2 separate regions of the Homo sapiens genome follow, and region 2 is linked to region 1. Evidence: promoter capture Hi-C in 16 types of primary human blood cells and fetal thymus (Javierre and others, 2016). All regions are on one chromosome and are shown on one strand. Each heading gives the region's core, a stretch centred on a gene start or on the middle of the fragment in contact. The rest is flanking DNA. Distances are from core to core; before and after follow the strand shown. Region 1 holds the start of DEFA6 (defensin alpha 6). Region 2 has its middle 9.5 kb from the start of DEFA5.

Region 1 (3,664 bases), core at 789-3,288:
ATTAAAATTCTAAGCCCTCCAGCCAACTGAATGGACGCCTCCTCTCAGCCCAAGGCATTCTAGTGTTAACCTCAAACACTGGTTCAGGCCATGATGGGACGTGGGGATCAGGAATACCTCATGATATCCTCCTCCCATTGGAATTCAGGCACAGCTGGCCAGCATTAACATTAAAACAGAGTGCCTAAGGCCACGTGCGGTGGCTCATGCCTGTAATCCCAGCACTTTGGGAGGCCGAGGTGGGCGGATCACTTGAGGTCAGGAGTTCGAGACCAGCCTGGTCAACATAGTGAAACCCTGTCTCTACTAAAAATACAAAAATTACTTGGCGTGGTGGTGGATACCTGTAATCCCAGCTACTTGGGAGGCTGAGGCAGGAGAATCACTTGAACCCAGGAGGTAGAGGTTTCAGTGAGCCAAGATTGTGCCACTGCACTGCAGCCTGGGCAACAGAGCGAGACTCCATCTCAGAAAGCAAAAAACAAAAAAACAAAAAACCCAAATCCTCTCTTCTCTCAACATCCTCTCTACCACTTCTCTGGTCTACATAGAAAACTCTTTCGAAGAGCTAGTGTTCTGAGATACGACTTGGGTTTTTGTTTTTGCATCTGAAGAATCCTGAATTATCAAACACCAGAAAAGCACAAACACAAAAGAACTTGCTGAAAGGACTTTATTTGAGATGAGGAAACAAAGTTGATGGCAATGTATAGGACACACGACAGTTTCCTTCTAGGTCATAAAGTAAATTATGAATATATTTCTCTCTGTTCTCATCCCTCAGAGGCAGCAGAATCTGTGGTTAATACCCATGACAGTGCAGGTCCCATAGGAATATTCTGTTGAATAACAGGACCTTCTGCAATGGCAAGTGAAAGCCCTTGTTGAGCCTGGGGACAGAGAGAGAGAGCATCAGAAATTGAGCACCAGGGTCAGCAGCGGGCAGTAAAGAGAATCTTCAGGAAGTTGCATGCTTGCTGACATGTAATGCTGGCTGCATTACAGCCAATAGCATGATCACACCATCAATAGGAATAAATACGCAGAGCAGTGTTGGTCACACACAGGATTAGAGAGCCATTCTGATATGCTGTACTTATCTGCTCCTTCCCTGTCACACACACATCTGAATGCACCCATATGACTGTCTCCAGTTTGCAACGGTTCCTATAAAAGTCAGATTAAAAAACATTCCTTTAGCAGCTGGATGTGGTGGCTTACGCCTGTAATCCCAGCACTTTGGGAGGCCAAGGTGGGTTTATCACAAGGTCAGGAGTTCAAGACTAGCCTGGCCAAGATGGTGAAACCCCGTCTCTACTGAAAAAAAAAAAAATACAAAATTTAGCCAGGCTTGGTGTCTGGTGCCTGTAATCCTAGTGACTTGGGAGGCTGAGGGAGAGAATTGCGTGAACCCAGGAGGCAGAGGTTGCAGTGATCTGAGATAGTGCCACTGCACTCCAGCCTGGGTGACAGAGCGAGACTCCATCAAACAAAACAAAACAAAACAAAGCAAAACAAAACATTCCTTTAAAATTAGGCTCTCTTCCTTGAAGTAGAGACTCCTCAATACATTTCTACATGGCAAAAAATTAGAAAATTTCATAGACTTATCATAGAATTAAAAAATCTTTAGAGAAAAGTCATGCCTTGAATATCACTGATTCTTCCTTTTCAGTACAAACATAAAGTAATTGAGGCCTGGGGAGGTGATCACCTAAGAGAAAGAGCCAGCTGTTGGATCTAATTCTAGAAGTGCTTGGTTTTCCTCTCTACACTCCTAGCTCTGCAATGCTGGTGTCTCTTACCCAAAGCTCTAAGACTTGAGCTTGCATCCTCTGCAAAGGAGACGGCAAAGTCCTGGTCATTTGCCCCACGCTGCTCCTGGGCATCAGCCTCATAAGCTTTTGCCTGCAGTGGATCATCCTCAGCTTGGAGTGGCTCAGCCTTGGCCTGGAGGGCCACGAGGAGAACAGCAGTGAGGATGGTGAGGGTTCTCATGGCTAGGGTCGCTGGAGGAGAGAGAGCAGGAGCAGATGTGTGGGGAGTGAGGAGCCAGCCTGGATTTATAGGTCTGCTGGGAGAAGGCTCAGGGACAGATGTTGCGGTGAGACGGGGAGTGCATGTGATTGGGGAGCAGAAGAGCTACCCTTGCCCTCCATGTCCCTTTGATGCTCCTTTGTTCTCCAAGCTTCATTGTAGTGTGAGGCTGTTTATTGAGTGTCTGTTCTGGTCCCAGCTGATAGTGATGATAAGAACAGTGTTACATTGTCCTGTTTTCCATCTGCTGGAATATTTACTTGTTAATATTCAAAAAAGAAAAGAACAGTGCTTTCAATGAATAATTTCAGGAATCAAATGCCTCTTATTTTCTGAAGGTGGGGCTGGCCACTCTCTGGAGGTCTAGACCTTGAGGCCAGAGCTGGATCCCGCTAGAGTAGAGAGTTAATTCATTGCAGGATTCAGGGGGCATTTCTGCCCTCATGAAGGAGGCTTTGAGATTATGGGGTGAATAGGCTCTTGTGGGGCACAGTGTGGAGAAGATAATGACCTTATCAGCCTATAAGGGAAAAGAACTCAGTGGGATACTAGGTAAAGAGTTAGTAAAACTAAAGCCAAAAGATTTATTTCAAGAAACCCATGTGATCTGAATGTATCAACTAAAATATGTACTAGGTATTTCTCTCCACTTTGAGAAACATCGAAACAATTGACATGCCCACAATCCCCCTCTGAAATTTTATTTTATTTTTAATTTTAGAAAATGTTGAATTGCCCACAAGGACCATTCAAAGGGTAAAAGGAGTAATGAGCCTCCATCCTTGCCCCAGCCCTGCAGCTCTGCTCCAGGAAATCTCCACTTAAAAATTAAACATTGGTTTGTGCTTTGTTTTTTCTCCCTAATGCTGTAATTTGAATACTTTGTAGCTCAAAACATATAGAACTCTACCATTATTTTCATAGTCTCTTGTTTCTGGTCTTCTATTCAGGTATTTTATCCATTTTGAGTTAAGTTTTGTATATGCCAAAAGAGAAGGGTCCAGTTTTATTGTTTTGCATATGGAAATAGTATTCCCACCACCATTTATTGAAGAGACTCTCCTGTCCCTATTGTGTCTTCTTCATGCCATTGTCAAAAGTTACTTGACCATATGTGTTTCGATGTGTTTCTGGACTCTCAATTTTATTTCACTGGTATGTGTCTGGTTTTATGCCAATACCATATTGTTTTGATTACCGTAGCTTTGTAATATAATTTAAAACCAGGAATTGTGATGTCTTCAACTTTGTTTTTTTTTCTCAGAATTGTTTTGTCTATTTGGGTTCTTTCACCATTTCATACAAATTTTAGGATTTTTTTTTTTATTTCTGTAAAGAATGCCATGGGGATTTTGATAGGAATTGTGCTGAATCGGTATATTGTTTTGTTTGGGATAGACATTTTAACAATCTTAATTCTTCCAATTTTCAGCCCAGGATATCTTTCCATTTATTTTTACATTCTTTAATTTCTTTCACTATTTTTTTTTTTTTCATTTTCAGTGTGTAGATCCTTCACCTCCTTGTTTCTTCCTAGGTGTTTTATTTTTTGATGCTATTGTACATGGAATTGTTTTCTTGATTTTTGTTTCAGTTTTGTTAGGGAATCTATGGGCATTTAAAAATG
Region 2 (3,991 bases), core at 1,023-3,522, 140 kb after region 1:
AGAGAGAAGATAAAGAACAAGGAAGAGAGACTAAATTGTTCGTTTCCAGGTTTTCAAATGGAATCTTGTCCTGATTTGGGTCTCAATTAACAAAGCACAAGGACAGCTGAGCCTGTAACAGGTGTTGCTGAGGATACAGGACCGAGAGTGATACTCAGTGGCAACATGCAGGTCTGCAACTGCAGGTGCCTCTCACCTGGTGACCTGCAGGAAGATGGAGGAGCATATTGGGCACAGTGCTCGGTTTGGGGGTACGGGAAATCAGATCAGAGCAGCCCAGAGGAGGACTGTGTTCTAATAGAGCAGGTTCTAATAGAGCAGAATAAAGAGATCATAACTGGCCATCTGTCGGCCATTCAAGATCTGGTGCTTCCTTTCATGTTTTCTGTCATTTATATCACACAGTCCCCACTCCCTGCACACAGGCACTGAGACTCAGAGACATGCACATGCACGTCTATAACACATACATCCCCAGTTTCCACCTCACAACACACTCCACTCACCACACAGGCGTGCACATACCTGCACAATATAAACATACAAACATATGCACAGGTGCACGCATGCACACACACCCTGAAGTGCAGACTCCAAACTCTAATATATCTGGTTTAGTCTCTGAGGCTGAAGCTGCTCAGAGGGCGCCTCCCGCGATGCGGGGAGTAATATCTCCCCCTCTCCCCCCCGGGCTATTACCAGCCACATCACAGGGGGGTGAGGGCGCCCCCCGCGATGCGGGGAGTAATATCGCCCCCCTCTCCCCCCTTGCATATTACGAGCCACGGTGGTCACACAGCGTGTTGACATTATTGTCAATAATATCTTCTCTCCCTCTGGAAATGACCAACTAGATCACAGACCGGTGTACATCCTCTTCACTATTTGTAGTAATAGCATCCTCTTCCCCCTGGATATTAAGAACAGTATCACAGGAGTCTTTCTACCCCCAGCGGCATTGGGTGTAGTATCGTCCTCTCCCACGTTGAAATTATGAACTATATCACTGGGGGTGTGTCCACCCCATGCGATATTGATAGTAGCATCATCCTCTTCTCTCCTGGATCAGGGGAGCAATGTCACTGGGGTGGTGTACACTTTCTGCGGTATCGGCAGTAAGATCATCCTCTCCGCCTTGGAATATGAAGGACCATATCACAGGGGGGCTGTACACACCCTGCGCTATGAAGACGAATATTATCCTCTCCCACCCTGCACATGAGAAAAAATATCACAGGGTGGGTGTACACCTTCTGCGATATGGGGGGGAAATATCTTCTCTTCTTCTGGATAGTAGGAACAATATCACACGGGTTTGTACACTTTCTGTGATATTGGGAGTAATATCAACTTCTCCGCCTTTGAATATTAAGAACAGTGTCACAGACTGGATGTACACCCCCTGCGATATTGGGAGTAAAATCAGCCTCTCCTCTCCATGGATATTAGGAATAATATCCCAGAATGGGTGTACACCTCCTGCTGTATGGGAAGTCATATCTTCCTCTCCCTTCCTGGCTACTAGGAACCATATCAGAGGGTGGGTGTACACAGCCTGCGATATTGCGAGTAATATCACCCTCTACCCCTCCGGATATTAGGAACAATATCACAGAAGGGGTGTACACTTTCTGCGATACTGGGAGTCATAGCATTGTCTTCTTCCGTGAATATTAGGAGCAATTTCACCGGGTGGATGTACACCCACTGCTCTATTGGGAGTGACGTCATACTCCACCCCCTGGAGATTATATTCGGATCAATATCACTGGGTGGGTGTACACCTACTGCAATATTGAACATAATATCATGCTCTCTCCCTCCCTGGACATTAGGAGCAATATCACAGGTAGGTGTACACCCACTGAGGTATTAGGCGTAATATTCATATTCATTATTCCTCATTTATTAGTCACATGAATATGAATTACCAATATTAATATTAATAACAAATTGCTGATAAAAAGTGTTCAAAATATTAATATTAATTATTAGGAGCTAATATTACTGTTTTCTAATGTATAAGATCAATATCAGTTATTAATATCAGGCATTATTAATCATTAATATTAATCATTTATTGTTATCATTCGTATAACTATTTAATATTAATTATCATTATTATTGGTATTGATGTTAAAAATTATATTTTCAGTTATTAATGTCGATAATTATTAGTATCAATTAATAATGGATGTTATTAATTGCGATAAGTAATATTGATATTAAAATCGATATTATTGATTATCAATTATTAATTGCGATAAGTAATATTGATGTTGAAATGGATATTATTTATTATTAATTATTAATTGCGATAATAATATTAATTGCGATAAGTAATATTGATATTGAAATTGATATTATTAATTGTGACAAGTAATATCGATATTAAAATGGATATTAGTGATTATTAATTATTAATTGCGATAATGATATTAATTGCGATAATGATATTAATTGCGATAAGTAATATTCATATTAAAATTGATAGTATTAATTGCTATAAGTAATATTGATATTAAAATTGATATTATTAATTGCGATAAGTAATTTTGCCCCATTCCACATAATATCTGTGATCTTGTTGCTAATACCCAGGCGGGGAGAGGACGTTATTAATCCCAATAATCCGGAAGGTGTAGACCTCCCCTGTGATATTGTCCCTAATATCCAAAGGTGGAGAGGAAGATATACCTCCCAATTTCGCAGGGGTTGTACACCACCCCTGTGACATTGTTCCTAATGTCCAGGGGTAGAGAAAATGACATGACTCACAATAAGGCAGGGGGTGAACACCCCGTCCATGATATTGTTCCTAATATTCAGGGGGGAAGAGTATGATGTTACTCCCAATATCACAGGCGGTGTACTCCCCATATCCCAGGTTGTGGATAGTATCCCGATCTGTGATAGACTCCGCCACGATGTGGGGAGTAATGTCATCCCCCTCTCCTTCCCTCGGTATTACGATACACATCGCAGGGGGGCGGGCGACCCCTACGATGCGGGGAGAAAAATCACCCCCCACCCCTGATATTACGAGCCACATCGCAGGGGGGTGGACACCCCCAGTGATGCGGGGAGTAATATCTATCCCCCTTCCCCATGGATATTAGGAGCCACATCACAGGGGCGTGGACACCCTCCGCTGATGCGCAGAGTAATATCAACCCCCATCCCTCCCTGCATGTTAGCAGTCACTGAGGACACACAGTGTATTTACCATATTTCCAGTAAGATCATCTTTTCAATTGAACCTTATGAACAAGATCACAGAGGGGTGTACACTTCCTGCGATACTGGGGGTAATAGCGTTCTCTCCTCCACTGCATACTGGGAACAATATCACAGGGGTGTGTATTCCTCCTTCCATATTGAGAGTCATATCATACTTGCCTTCCATATATTAAGAACAATAGCAAAGAGGGGAGTGGACACTGTGACGATATTAGGAGTAACATCATTCTCTCTACCCCTGGATATTAGTAGCAATATCACAGGGGGATGTACATTTCTTGTGATATTGAGAGTAGTAGTATTGTCTTCCCCGGTGGATATGAAAAACAATACCACAAGGGGCGTCAAACCACCTGCCAAATTTGAGGGCATGTTATCCTCTCCGCCCCCGGATATTAGAGACAATAACACAGGGGTAATGTACACCCACTGCTTGATCGGGAGAAGGATCATCCTCTCCCTTCTTGGATATTAGGAACAATATCACGGGGGTGGGGGGGGGGTGTACTGCCTCTGCGATATTGGGAGTAAAACTCTCCTGTCTTCCCCTGGATATTAGGAAGTGTATCAGAGGGGGAGGGTGCACATTCCCTGCGATATTCAATGTAATCTTATGCTCTCCCTCCCAGGGTATGAAGAACAATATTACAGGAGGGGTGTACACCCTCTGCGATATTGGGAGTCATATCATCCTCTTTCGCTCTGGATATTAGGAAGAATATCACAGGGCTGTGTACACCCCCTGTGATAT

The links. The method cuts DNA at HindIII sites, captures the fragments that hold promoters and counts their contacts. A CHiCAGO score of 5 or more calls a contact.
Region 2: a fragment that was not itself captured here is called in contact with the fragment with the promoter of DEFA6 in region 1 in 1 of 17 cell types (neutrophils); the score reaches 5.4 in neutrophils.

Annotation. Positions count from the first base shown.
Region 1 is chr8:6,924,038-6,927,701 of GRCh38, forward strand. It overlaps DEFA6 (defensin alpha 6), which reads right to left and starts at 2,039. Exons shown (of 2, transcript NM_001926.4): 1 at 1,806-2,039; 2 at 660-890. The coding sequence starts at 1,998. The coding sequence ends at 781. RefSeq lists an enhancer at 1-384. The HindIII fragment of the contact is 287 bases long and covers 1,900-2,186 here.
Region 2 is chr8:7,064,212-7,068,202 of GRCh38, forward strand. No RefSeq gene overlaps it. Among named protein-coding and RNA genes, the nearest start is that of DEFA5, 9.5 kb to the left of the region's middle. The HindIII fragment of the contact is 7,713 bases long and covers 1-3,991 here.